Linked DNA regions of Homo sapiens: region 1 is linked to region 2. The links are contacts of gene promoters, found by promoter capture Hi-C in blood cells and fetal thymus (Javierre and others, 2016). All regions are on one chromosome and are shown on one strand. The core of a region is centred on a gene start or on the middle of the fragment in contact, and the rest is flanking DNA. Distances in the headings are between cores, read along the strand shown.

What was found. The method cuts DNA at HindIII sites, captures the fragments that hold promoters and counts their contacts. A CHiCAGO score of 5 or more calls a contact.
Region 1: the fragment with the promoter of TMEM184B here is called in contact with a fragment that was not itself captured in region 2 in 3 of 17 cell types (M2 macrophages, M1 macrophages and M0 macrophages); the score reaches 5.8 in M2 macrophages.

What each region holds. Positions count from the first base shown.
Region 1 is chr22:38,270,880-38,277,926 of GRCh38, reverse strand. It overlaps TMEM184B (transmembrane protein 184B), which reads left to right and starts at 4,917. Exons shown (of 9, transcript NM_012264.5): 1 at 4,917-5,043. RefSeq lists a silencer at 4,765-5,394 and an enhancer at 5,457-6,166. The HindIII fragment of the contact is 13,147 bases long and covers 1-7,047 here.
Region 2 is chr22:38,581,491-38,588,506 of GRCh38, reverse strand. It overlaps FAM227A (family with sequence similarity 227 member A), which reads left to right. Exons shown (of 17, transcript NM_001013647.2): 17 at 2,308-7,016. The coding sequence ends at 2,382. Among named protein-coding and RNA genes, the nearest start is that of DMC1, 15 kb to the right of the region's middle. RefSeq lists a silencer at 2,696-2,896 and an enhancer at 5,441-5,490. The HindIII fragment of the contact is 1,879 bases long and covers 1,072-2,950 here.

The DNA.
Region 1 (7,047 bases), core at 3,668-6,167, 310 kb after region 2:
CCTGTCTCTACTAAAAATACAAAAATTAGCTGGGTGTTGTGGTGCGTGCCTGTAGTCCCAGCTACTCGGGAGGCTGAGGCAGGAGAATTGCTTGAATCCGGGAGGTGGAGGTGGAGGTTGCAGTGAGCAGAGATCGTGCCACTGCACTCCAGCCTGGCGACAGAGTAAGACTCCGTTTCAAATAAATAAATAAATAAATATAGGCCAGGAGCGGTGGCTCACGCCTGTAATCCCAACACTTTGGGAGGCTGAGGCGGGCAGATCACGAGGTCAGAGATCGAGACCACGGTGAAACCCCGTGTCTACTAAAAATACAAAAAATTAGGCGGGCACGGTGACCGGCGCCTGTAGTCTCAGCTACTCCAGAGGCTGAGGCAGGAGAATGGCATGAACCCGGGAGGTGGAGCTCTCAGTAAGCCGAGATCACGCCACTGCACTCCAGCCTGGGCGACAGAGCGAGACTCTGTCTCAAAAAAAAAAAGAAGGAACCAAAAGGTGATATCTGATTTGGTCCTTGAAGGGAGAATAGGAGTAGCTGTTTGCTGAGTTGAGTTCAAAGGGGTGGAGCTGGTCATTGAGAAAAGCATTCTTTCTTCATTAGCCTGTGGGCAGGGGGAAAGGTGAGGCTGGGGGCCTGGGAAACCATTATAATTGTCCAGAAGTTAAGTCAGACTGAACCAGGGCAGTGGAGGGGAAAGCGGACACATTTAGGTGGAATCTTTGAGCCTTGTTAGAAAGAATAGGCCAGGCATGCTGATCACATCTGTAATCCCAACACTTTGGAAGGCAGAGGCAGGAAGATTGCTTGAGGCCAGGAGTTCAAGACCCAGTCTCTATAAAACCATTAAACATTGAAAATTAGGCCAGGTGCAGTGGCTCACGCCTGTAATCCTAGCACTTTGGGAGGCCAAGGTGGGCGGATTGCCGGAGCTCAGGAGTTTGAGAACACCCTGGGCAACATGGTGAAACTCTGTCTCCATTAAAAAAATACAAAAAAAAATTAGCTGGTCGTAGTGGCGCGTGCCTATAATCCCATCTACTCGGGCGGCTGAGGCAGGAGAATCGCTTGAACCTGGGAGGTTGCAGGGAGTCGAGATCGCGCCACTGCACTCCAGCCTGGGCAACAGAGCAAGACTCTGTCAATAAATAAATAAATAAATAGAAAATTAGCTGAGCGTGATGGTATGCCCATGTAGTCCTAGCTACTTGGGAGGCAGAGGTGGAGGATTGCTTGAGCCCAGGAGTTTGAGGCTGCAATGAACTATGATCAAACCATTGCACCCCAGCCTGGGTGAGAGAGCAAAACCCAAGAAAGAAAGGATGGGTAGTTGCATGGAGGAGGGGTGAGAGGGAAGATAGCAAGGTAGGTGTTTATCTTCATTTTGGAAAACCTGAGTAAAGGTCTTGAGAGGGCTTTTTTCCTCCCACAGGGAGCACCAACTAGGGCCCCCAATACCACCTGCTGACCTGCCATATCACTCAGACCAGGTGACTTTCTGTCTTTGAGCCCCTTCCGGGCAACCAAGCCTAAAAATACCCACCACCTGCCTCTGTCCCCTGCCAGCCCGGGGCCTCTGTAAGTTGAGACCCAAGAGTGCCCCTAAGCAGAAACCAAGACCCTGAACTGAAAGCCCTGGAGGGGAAGTGTAAGTCAGGTTGTGTCTGGTCTGTAAGTGTCTTGTACTACACATTGCAGATATGGTGGGTAATTGGGACAAAGACTTCCTCCTGAAGGGGTTAGTGTGTAGGGAGGGAGAGCTGGGAAGTCATAAACAAGTTACAATGCAATTGATAAGCCTTACTCTTGTTAGGACAGACCCAGGCATGTCCTACCTGGGGCTGGGGAGGAATCGTTCTATAGGATTTTGCTATTACCAGATCTCTGGTCATGTTATACCTACTTTTGCGGGGGCATGTTCTCTATGCCAGACCCTGTACTAAGTACTGGGATTACATCAGAAAACAAAAAGGATACTTGGGAGGCACAGGCAAGAGTATCGCTTGAACCTGGGAGGTTGAGGCTGCAGTGAGCCAAAATTGCACCACTGCATTCCAGCTTGGGTGACAGAGTGAGACTCCATCTCAAACAACAACAACAACAAAAAAGCCAAAAAGGATGAAAATCTTTCTCTTCAGAATTTATTGGCCAGGCACACAGTGGCTCACACCCGTAATCTCAGCACTTTGAGTGGTCTAGACGGGCAATTGCTTTGAGCCCAGGAGTTTGAGGCCAGCCCTGGCAACATAGCGAAACCCCATCTCTACAAAAAAAAAAAAAAAAAAAAAAAAATACAAAAATTAGCCTGGTATGGTGGCACATGCCTATAATCCCAGCTAACCAGGAGGCTGAGGTGGGAGGATCACTTGAGCCTGAGTGGCGGATGTTGCAGTGACCTGAGATTGTGCCACTGCACTCCAGCCTGGGTGACAGAGACTGTCTCAAAAACAAAAAAACAAAACCGAAAAATTTTGTGTTCTACTAGAAGAAGACACACAGGGAAACAGGCAAACTATATAATATGATAGAAATGAAGTGACAGGGTGGCTCACGCCTGTAATCCCAGCACTTTGGGAGGCTGAGGCAGGCGGATCACGAAGTCAGGAGATCGAGACCATCCTGGCTAACGCGGTGAAACCCCGTCTCTACTAAAAATACAAAAAATTAGCCAGGCATGGTGGTGGGCGCCTGTAGTCCCAGCTACTCTGAGGCTGAGGCAGGAGAATGGCATGAACCCGGGAGGCGGAGCTTGCAGTGAGCCGAGATAGCACCATTGCACTCCAGCCTGGGTGACAGAGCGAGACTCCGCTTCAAAAAAAAAAAGAAAGAAAGAAAGAAATGAAGTGACAGGGAAAGTAGGGCACGGTAAAGGGAAATACAGAGTGCATGTGAGGGGTCTGGTAGTTTTACTAGGGGTGCTCACAGCAGGCCTCACTAAGTGGAGGACATTCGAGCAAACCCTTGAAGAAGGTGATGGAGGAGCCATTCAGGTATCTGGGGAAACAGCGATCGCAGCAGAGGGAACAGCTAGTGCAGGGGGCTCGGGGCTGAGTGTGCTCAGCTTGTTCTAGGAACAGCAAGGGATCAGTGTGGAGGGAAAGGGTAAGAGATGAATGAGATCAGGAATCCCCAGGAGAGTAGAATGTCAGATCAAGTGTTTGTAAGGACTTGTAAGGCTTTTACTTAGAGCGAAACAGTGAGCCAATGGAGGGTTTTGAGCAAAAAAGTACCATGTTTTGACTTCGATTTTATTTTATTTTTTGAGACAGATTCTCATTTTGTCACCCAGGTTGGTGTGCATTGGCACGATCTTGGCTCACCACAACCCAACCTCCGCCTCCCGGGTTCAAGCAATTCTCATGCCTCCAGAGTAGCTGGGACTACAGGCATGTACCACCACACCCAGCTAATTTTTGTATTTTTAGCAGAGACAAGGTTTCACCATATTGGCCAGGCTGGTCTGTAACTCCTGGCCTTAAATGAGCCACCCGACCTCACAAAGTGCTGGGATTACAGGCGTGAGCCACCGTGCCCGGCAGATTTTAAAAGAATCTTGGCTGGGCGTGGTGGCTCACGCCTGTAATCCCAGCACTTTGGGAGGCCGAGGCAGGCGGATCACAAGGTCAGGAGATCAAGACCATCCTGGCTAACGCGGTGAAACCCCGTCTCTACTAAAAATACAAAAAATTAGCTGGGCATGGTGGCGGGCGCCTGTAGTCCCAGCTACTCGGGAGGCTGAGGCAGGAGAATGGCGTGAACCCGGGAGGCGGAGCTTGCAGTGAGCCGAGATCGCGCCACTGCACTCCAGCCTGGGCAACTTTGAGACAAAGAGCGAGACTTTGTCTCAAAAAGAAAAAAGAGAAAAAAAAAAAAGGATCTCCCTCACCCCTGAATTGATAGAATGGATCAGAGGGCAAGGCTGGAACAAGGGAGAGGGGTTAGCAGAACTCTGCAATAATCCTGTGCAAATACTGGACCAGGGTGGTAGCACTGGAGGAGGAGTGGCAGACATCTGAGTCTAGATCTATTTTGCAGGTAGAGCCAACAGGATCTCCTGCCTGCCTTATTGGGTAGCGGGCAGAAGGGGGGCATTCATTCACAGCTGACTCCGAGTTCTGGCCTGGGGACTGGAAGGATGGAATTGTCAACAGCTGATGGAGGCAAAGCTGAGAGGGAGCAGGTTTTTGTGTGTGGAAGTGGGGTTGGCTCAGCTCAGACACGCTGACTTTGAGATGCCTGCTGGAGCTCCAAGGAAGAGGTGTTGGGTAGACAGTTCAGGCGAGGAGTCTGGAGACATAAATACATTTGGGGATCTTGAGCACATCAATGCCAGAACTTAATTGCATTTTATCTTGTTCAGTTAACCTAGGTGATGTCTGGACCGGCAAACAGAAATGGACTAGGCGGCTTGAACCCTATCTGAAGACTTTTGCTAGTTCGGCAGCCTAGAGCCAGACGGGGCAAGAAAGAATCGCTGCTAAGCGGAGTGGGAAAAAAAGGCCTCTTTCAGTGCTTTGCCATTTCATCTGGCCTAATTGCACACAACACTCGGTCCACGTTCATTCCACAATTCCACACGCATCCTTCACTCAACAAATAGCCATTGTATTTCGTTTCATCTTCAAAACAGGCTCAAATGGAGGAAATTAGGGTTAAAAGAAGTGAAGCACCAGCGAGGGTCAGGGGCAGAGATCGCAGCCCAGAAAGCTCTCGCGGTTGGGGGCCGGTCGTAGCTGGTTTTGTGAGTGGCAAGAGAACCCGGGTCGCGCCCCAACCCGCGGGGCGGCGGGCTGGGGTTCGGGGCGGCGGGCTGGGGTTCGGGGCGCGGCCCCTTTAAGGCCCAGGCAGTGATCTCAGCCGCGTCCGCCGCCCCGCCCTCCCCGGCGGCGAGCCCAGAGCGCATGCGCGCCGCGGCTGCACTCCACTGGGCCCGGGACGCGCCGGCGGCGGCGGAGACTCCGGGGCTGCGGCGCCGCCCGCCCCGCCCGCAGAGTCCGGCTGCCGCGCATCGTCCGCAGACGCCGCCACCGCCATGGGCTCCTGAGGTATCCCGCCTGGCCGGCCTCGCCCGGGAGCCCCAAGGGGGAGCTGCGACTCCCGAGCGCGGGGGGCTGCTTGTTTCGGAGAGGCCCGCGCGAGGGACGCCCGGCTTCGGCCGCCGGCTCCCGGGCGGGGAGGGCACTACGGAGGCCGGTGCGGCCGCGGAGGGAGGGGGCATCCGTCTCCCCACCCGTGCCTCCTCTCCGCCCCGCGAGGTCGCCCGTGGGTGTGCCCGCTCCCTTTCCACGCCAACGTGGCGGGGGCAGCTCCTGGAGTGTAATCGGACCTGTCCGGGGGGCGGCCCCGGGAGAGGGAGGCGGATGGACCAAGGCGCTTTGCAAGAGGGATTGTGTGCTCCCGGGTGGGTGTGCTGGCGACTGGCACGGCCGAGTGAGTGGGGGAGGCGTCCGTGCCCTGTGCGGGTGGCAGTGACCTGGGAGGGTGGTCGGCGGGGGGCTTTCGGGGCTGCGTCGTGAGTGGAGGGTGTACACGCCCGCCACACAGGTCCGCAGGTTTGGAAGGGGATCGACTGGGACCTGGGGCTCGAAAGATGTTTGCCCCCAAAGGGACCGTGGAGACTGGTTTTGGGTGTCTGTATCCTTCCCGTGAATTGTACATTTCCTCCTGGGCACACCCTTGGTACCTCGCTTGGATCCACTTACCTCCAGTGCTGGGTGGCTCCAGGCCAAGGCAAGGCAGTTATGCTGGGGGTTGGGCATGGATTCCCAATACATATCCCCTCTGGAGGTGTTGTATAAGGCCAGACGTTTTACTCCTCCCTCCTTTCCAGGGCATTTTGGGGCAAAGCAGGTATTTGCATGCCTGATACCTGTGGTGAGGTGAAGGCCATGTATTATTTATCTGACTGCTGGTGCTTTTGTAAGGAAAGAAGCAGCAATCTGTGCCCTGGAGGCCCTGCGCTGCAGAGTCAGCCAGGCAAACAAGCTCACCTGCACCTGCAGAGGCAGCGCAGGTCTCAGAGGTGTGACTTCGTTGACAGGTTATGCCTACAGTGTCCCTTTCCATCTACCTATTTAGCTTCCTTGGTAGAACCCCTAGGCTCTGCACCTCTGAACCTTGCCTAGGGTGCTGTGCGTATCAGAGTTGGGACCTGGGACGCTGGGGTGGGAGAGCCCCAGCAGCCAGGTATGTGTGCCCACCTGGACAGAAACATTTGATGCCCAAGCCATCAAGGAGCTCTCAAGCATGGGGGAATCAGATTTGGAAACAGGTGATCACGATGATGTGAAAAATACCAAACAAAGGAGTAGAAGGAGTACAGAGGCAGGTTCAGTTCCCGGGGAGGGGGATCGTGGCCGCAGGAAAGACTCCCTCATAAGGAGACGGTTGAGCTGAAGCCTGAAGGATGACTGACGTTCATCTGAGGCTTTTCTGCTTTCCACATATATTTTCCTGTGTAATTTGCACAGCAGCTGTGTGAGTAAGGAACAGTTGTCCCTATTTGCAGATGCGGTAAACTGAGGCCCAGAGGGAATTCATGACGTTCTTCTCCACGATACGTGGCAAGCCTGGATGGAATCATCCTTTAACCAGGACCTCTCTCTTGCTGCCAGATCTTGTCTTGCAACTTACTGAGCATCTACTATGTGCCAGGCACTATGCTGGGGCATAGCGGTCTGATGATCAATGGGACCTGGTGCCTGCCTTCTAGGGGCTCCCAGTGCTGGGAAGATGGACACTGATTTAGTGACCCCAATCTGGATACGAGGCTCCAATAGCTAATGTGGGTGGAGAAGGCGCTGTGAATTCCCCCAAAGCATTTGTGCAGTCGTTGGGATTCTGGATGTCTTATTTGTTGCACCCACGGTGGTGGTGGGTTATTCAAAGAGCCCCTTCTGAATTTCTCCAACCAAGTAGAAAGAAGAGCTTCGAGGCAGAAGGGTGAATGAGCCACTTGTCCTAGTTCTTTCCTATTGGCCGAGTTCTGTGAGCAGGGGCTTCTGTCCGGAGGCTGTTTGCTCCCTCTCTGTCTTAGAGGTTTTGCTCCT
Region 2 (7,016 bases), core at 762-3,261:
GCTGGGACTACAGGTGTGCACCACCACGCCCGGCTAATTTTTGCATTTTTAGTAGAGATGGGGTTTCACCATGTTGGCCAGGCTGGTCTCGAACTCCTGACCTCAGGTGATCCACCCACCTCGGCCCCCCAAAGTCCTGGGATTACAGGCATGAGCCACCGCGCCTGGCTAAAATTTCTTTGTAGAGACAGGGTCTTGCTGTGTTGGCATTTTCAACGTATAGAATCATGCTATCTGTAAATAAAGATAGTTTTACTTCTTCATTTCCAATTTGGATGCCTTTCATTTCTTGCCTAATTATCTGTCTAGAGCTTCTGATACAAAGTGGAATACCAGCCATGAAAGGAGGCATTTTGTCCTGTCCCTGGTCCTAGGGAAAGGCTTTCAGTCTTTAACCATTGAGTGTGCTGTTATCTGTGGGTTTATCATAAATGTCCATAATCATGTTGGAGTAATTCCATCCTATTCCTATTTTTCTGATTGTTTATTATCATGAAATGCTGTTGGTTCTTGTCAAATGCTTTCTCTGCATCATTTGAGATAATTATGTAGGGTTTTCCCTTCATTCTTTTATTGTGCTCTATACACTGATCGATTTATGTTTCACTGAGGGGAACTACCTGGGATAAATCCCACTTGTTCCTAGTGTATAATCCTTTTAATATTTTAGTATTTGTTGAAGATCTCTGCATTTGTATTCTTAAGGAAGAGTGGTCTATAATTTCTTTTCTTGTCATTTCTTTGTCTAGTTCTGGTATCAGTATAATGCTGGCCCCATAAAATGAGCTATGAAATACTGTTACCTCTTCTATTTTTTGGAAGAGCTTGAGAAGAATTGGTGTTAATTCTTCCTTAATGGTTTGGTAGAATTCACAAATGAAGCCCTGTAGTCTTTCACTTTTCTTTGTTCAAAGGGAGATTTTTGATTATTGATTCAATCGTTTTATTTGTTATAAGTCTATGCAGAATTTTTATTTTTTTCTTGAGTCAGTTTTGGTAATTTGTGTATTTCTAGTTTTCCATTTCATATAGGCTATATAATTTATTGGCATTTGTATTCTCTTACAAGCTTTATTTCTGTAAGGTCGGTAATCATGTTCTCACTTTCATCTATGTGTGTCCTTTTCTTGGTAGTCATTCAAACTCAAAGTTTGTTAATTTTGTTGATAACTAACATTTTGTTTCTTTCAATTGACTTTCTATTTTTTCTATTCTCTATTTCACGTCCTCTGCTCTAATCTTAATCTCCTTCCTTCTACCAGCTTCAGATTTAGTTTGTGCTTCTTTTGCTAGGCCCATAAGTCATAAAGTGAAGTTATTGATTTGAGATGTTTCTTGTTTTTAAAACATAGGCATTTATGGCTATAAATTTCCCTCTTAGCACTGCTTTTGCTGCACTCCATAAGTTTTATTGTGTTATGTTTTTGTTTTTATTTCAAAATATTTTTTAGTATATCTTGTGATCTCTCCTTCAAGTTGTAGCATGTTCTTTCCAAATACGGACAGTGAACCTAAATAGAAGAAGTGTAGGCCAGGCACAGTGGCTCATGCCTGTAATTTCAGCACTTTGGGAGGCCAAGGCAGGCGGATCACGAGGTCAGGAGATTGAGACTATCTTGGTCAACATAGTGAAACCCTGTCTCTACTAAAAAAAAAAATACAAAAAACAAATTAGCTGGGCATGGTGGTGCATGCCTATAATCCCAGCTACTTGAGAAGCTGAGGCAGGAAAATCACTTGAACCCGGGAGTCAGAGGTTGCAGTGAGCTGAGATCGCGCCACTGCACTCCAGCCTGGCAACAGAGCGATACTCCGTCCCAAAAAAGAAAGAAAAAAATAAATGTAATGCTTTCGTGAAATATTAAAGGAAGTCCTTTAGGCTTGTGAGACTAGTCTCCATCCCATAGCCCAGCAAATAATATTCTGAAGATTCACATCTGGAGGTGTGAAGCAGATAGACAGAGTTAGAAAACACAATCCAGGTTTTCAGCGTCACCAGAGGGATGTCACCTCCAATGGAGTAGTACCTGCCTGCTACCTAGAGGTTTTTGGGGCCCAGTTCAGATCCGACACAGCAGTGTTCCTGTCAGTACTGGTGAAAGATGAAGGATGGAGGCACTGGGGATGTGGAAGCCGTGGATGCCAGCTGTCCTGCTCGACCACTTTCTCTGGAGGCAGGAGCACGCCCTCAATATTCCATGCACACAAGGATCACCACTGGCCACGCCACTGCTCACGTGCAAAGTCTTTGAAGAAATTACATTTTTTAAATTAATTTTTGTTTTTGTTCGTTTGTTTCCCCCACAGGAGGGGAAAGGAGGAGAGGGAAAGAGAAGAGAAACAGAAGTTGAACATTTCTTTCCACTCACTTCCAAGCCCTGAGGAGCTCCACAACCTAGAACCAGGAAGCGCCTACAGAATCCGTGATATTTCTGCTACGAGGTGGAGTGGAACAAGAAAATAAGAAAATTGTGGCCAAAGACAGAAATAGGAATCATGATTTCTCCATAGGGGAAGGATTCCGTTGTAGTTTTTCCTAGGCTGAGTGAAAAGCAGGAGTAGAGAGTTGGTGCTTGGGTCACTACATTTATTCATAGATTTACTCTTTCAGTATTTTATTACGTGCATGCTGGTAAGTATGTTACAAATATGACCTCATACAAAGGTAAAACTTTCATACCAGCCGTATGAAGTAGGGATTATCCACTGCATTTTACGCAGCAGCAAGCCCAGGTTTAGAAAGGTTTCCGAAGTTCTCTGCTGTAGACACTGGGTAATTAACAGTAGATAAGACACAGTCCCTGTTCTCAAGGGAGTCACCATCTGGTAGAGGGAAGACAGATGTATCAACACATTAAATGCTGTAAGTATTGGACAGAGGAAAAAGAGAAAAGTGTTGTGAGGGAAAAGGAAAATGGGCCTAGAGGAGTGCAATTTTTTGTAACAAGCTTTGTGGAACTATTAATTTGATAATTTGATAGGCGCTTCTATTATGCTGCCTCTGAACCTTTGCCTCCTGCTCCTCTAACCACTGGGATTGCCAGCCTATTTCCAATATGCCCTCTTTCTGCCTGGCAAACATCTTGTCTTTTCTAAACTCAGCCCAGGGACATGACATCTGTAATGTGTTTCTGTGTGACTCCCAGGCTTCTGCCTTCTTAACCTCTCACCTTCCAGCTCATTTGAGTGAATCTTTGTCCAAGAATTGAGAGAAACTTTATAGGTAAAGCATGCACATGTTGTCTGATTTAATCTAAAATAGAAATAAGAAAACAAAAAATAATACTGCAACTAGGGACACATTTAGTCACTCCCAGTTCATGAGACAAGGAATAGTAAAGTTCATTCCTACCATAGCAAAAGTCAGGATTTAAATGTAAATTAATTTTTTTAATTAAAAAATTTTAAATTAGGCCAGGCGTGGTGGCTCACACCTGTAATCCCAGCACTTTGGGAGGCTGAAGTGGGCAGATCACGAGGTCAGGAGTTCGAGACCATCCTGGCCAACATGGTGAAACCCCATCTCTACTAAAAATACAAAAATTAGCTGGATGTTGTGGCGGGCACCTGTAATCCCAGCTACTCGGGAGGCTGAGGCAGAAGAATCGTTGGAACCCAGGTGGCGGAGGTTGCAGTGAGCCAAGACCATGCTATTGCACTCCAGCCTGGGCAACAAGAGCGAAACTCTGTCTCAAAAAAAAATTTTTTTTAATTAATTTTAACTAAATTAAATTTTTTAGAGGCAGACTCTCAGTCTGTTGTCCAGGCTGGAATGCAGTGGCGCAGTCATAGCTCACTGCAACCTCAAATTCCTGGGCTGAAGCAATCCTCCCACCTCAGCCTCCCAAGTAGCTAGGACTACAGGTATGCCACCATGTCTGGCTAATTTTTAAAGAAATTTTTTTGTAGAGATGGGATCTCACTGTGTTGCCCAGGCTGGTCTCGAACTCCTGGCTTCAAGTAATCCTCCTGCCTTGTCCTTCCAAAGCACTGGGATTCTAAGTGTGAGCCACCACACCTGGCCTGGAGTATCTAATATTGTATAACATAATAATAGTAATCATAGGTGATGTCATTTATTGAGTACTTAGTATGTGCTGAGTGCTCTGCTAAGTCTGGTTTAGACATTATCTCAGTTAACCTTCCTGGTGTCCCCCAAGATGGATATTGTTACCTCCATTTTCTCCTAGGAAGAAACGGACTTGGGGGGGATGATTAGGTATTTGCTAGATGTCTATTCTGTACCATCCCTGCACTAGGCCCTGTGAATACAGAGATAAATAAAGACACAGTCCCTGACCTTATGGGGCTCACAATCTGGAAAAAAGAGAAGGATGTGTAAACCAATAAATGCATTAATGCTCCGATAGAAAGCTGCGTGGAATCTGAGAAAAACCAAGGCAGATGAAGCCAGTGTGCCAGCAGCCCTTTGGGACAGAAGATATTTCACTGAGGGGCACAGGCACAGGGGTTGGTTTGCCAAAGGACCAGCAGCTGGGCTGAAGGGCATAGGTTTTATCATTTGAGCTTCAAGGCACAAGGCAGTGACCTGGTCTGTGCTAGAACAGTTCACCTGTCACAGCCAAGAGGAAAGAAATGGTGCAGATGGCTGTTTGCCCAAACCAAGCAGCAGATAAGCAGATCTTGGGAAATGTAGCTCATCCCTCAGACACACATCTTTACTTGAATCCTGAGTAGAACTCTAGGTGACCCCCTTGGAGGCTATTACTCATGTAAAAGGGGATGAAGGAAAGGTAAGAGAGAAGGAGCTTAGGCTTTGGCATGAGAAAATTTGGGCCTTTGAATCCCTGCCCTGCTTCACCATATGGATGTGTGACTCAGCATAGTAGCTGTGCATCTTGACCTTTCTGAACGTGCTTTCTTGACTGCAGAAAGGGAATGCCTGCCTAGGAGGGTTGTTGTGAGGATTAGATGAGATAATTTGTGCAAAGTTCTTGGCACAGTACTTTTCACTTTGTAATTGCCACAAGCTGTTATTGTTGTTATTGCTGTTATAAAGTGTACTCTTCTTGGCCGGGTGCAGTGGCTCATGCCTGTAATCCCAGCACTTTGGGAGGCCAAGGCAGGTGGATCGCCTGAGGTCAGGAGTTTGAGACCAGCCTGGCCAACGTGGCGAAACTCCATCTCTACTAAAAATACAAAAAAATTAGCCGGGCACAATGGCAGGTGCCTGTAACCTCAGCTACTCAGGAGGCTGAGGCAGGAGAATCACTTGAACCCGGGAGGTGGAGGATGCAGTGAGCTGAGATTGCACCATTGCACTCCAGCCTGGGTAACAAGAGTGAAACTCCATCTCAAAAAAAAAAAAAAAAAAGTATAGTCTTCTGAAACCAGAACGTGTGAGCACCTGCCGAGTACAAGGCACCATGTGGGGCAGATAAGCAGAACACTCTCTCACCTTCCCTTTACTACCCCAGCCACTGTCAACTCTTCATTTGCAGTTTCTCTAGGAACCACACTTTCCTATTTCTGGATCTTTTGTCTGTTGCTGCTTCTGGACCTGAAAATGCCTTCTCCTCCCTCCTCTTTGTTAACTGCCAACATCACTAATTCCTGCTCTTCCTCCAGGACCCCGCTTAGACGTCCCTCATCTTGGGAGCCTTCCCTAATATACCAGGAGCAAGGTAGGCACAAGTGCTCCACTGCATTATGCTCCAACAGCATTCTGTGCCATCCCATTATGGCAGCAGTTACCATAGTAGATTGGAATTGCCTGTCTACCTATCCACCGCTACTATTAGCCCCCATACAGCAAGAAGGTCTCCTTATTTTCTAAGCCCAGGACAAACTGCATTTCTGTCTGTCAGGACCATTTGTTGCACAGTCCAAGATCATCCCTGCATGGACCCTTTCCAGAAATGACTGAGGACTCAGAGTTGTAGCCTCTCAGGATGTTAAATATGAAGAAACCTGTCTCTGCCCTTTGTAAACATTAGAAGGGAAAATTATGGGGAAGAATTATTTGCCCTTTATAAGGGAAGCGGGGTAGAGCATCAAAGGGAACTAACATTTAAAAAGCATTTGCTGTAATGTGGGATAAAGCAAATGAGTAATTGTATGATATTCTAATTCTGTCATTCCCAGTGTTGCTGAAAACCCATACTCTCAGCATGGAAGAAGATAAATTCAGATGTTAAACTAGAAGAGATGAAGTTAAAATCCTATAGTCCTGATTTTGAATTGCTTATGAATTGATGATGAAATGTATGTTTTAGAACATACAGTTTCCTGAAGAACAGGAGGGATAGCTGGAGAGGGGATAGGAGGGAAGCTGGAAGGGGTTACAAAGAGGCCCAAATAAACTTTTGGGGGTGACAGATATGTCTACTATCTTGATTGTGGTGAATGGCTCATGGGTGTATACACACCTAAATACACTTTAAATGTGTGCAGTTTCTCATATGTCAATTATACTTCGATAAAGCTTTGTTAAAAAACGAACAGGCCAGGCATGGTGGCTCACACCTGTAATCCCAGCACTTTGGAAGGCCAAGGCAAGAGGATTGCTTGAGGCCAGGAGTTTGAGACCAAACAGGACAACATAGTGAGACCTTGCCTCTACAAAAACATAAAAAATTAGTCCGATGTGGTAGTGCATACCTATAGTCCTAGCTACTAGGGAGGCTGAGGTGGGAGGATCGCTTGAGCCTGGGAGCTTAAGGCTGCCATGAGCTGTGATTGTGCTACTAGACTCAGCCTGGATGATAGAGCAAGACTGTGTCTGGGAAAAAAAAAAAAAAAAACCTGAGCCAGGTGCGGTGGCTAACGCCTGTAATCTCAGCACTTTGGGAGGCCGAGGCGGGTGGATTGCCTGAGACCAGTAGTTTGAGACCAGCCTGACCAACATGGCGAAATCCTGTCTCTACTCAAAATGCAAAATTAGCCGGGTGTGGTGGCAGCTGCCTGTAGTCCCGGGTACTCGCAAGGCTGAGGCAGGAGAATTGCTTGAACCCAGGAAGCGGAGGTTACAGTGAGCCAAGATCATGCCACTGCAC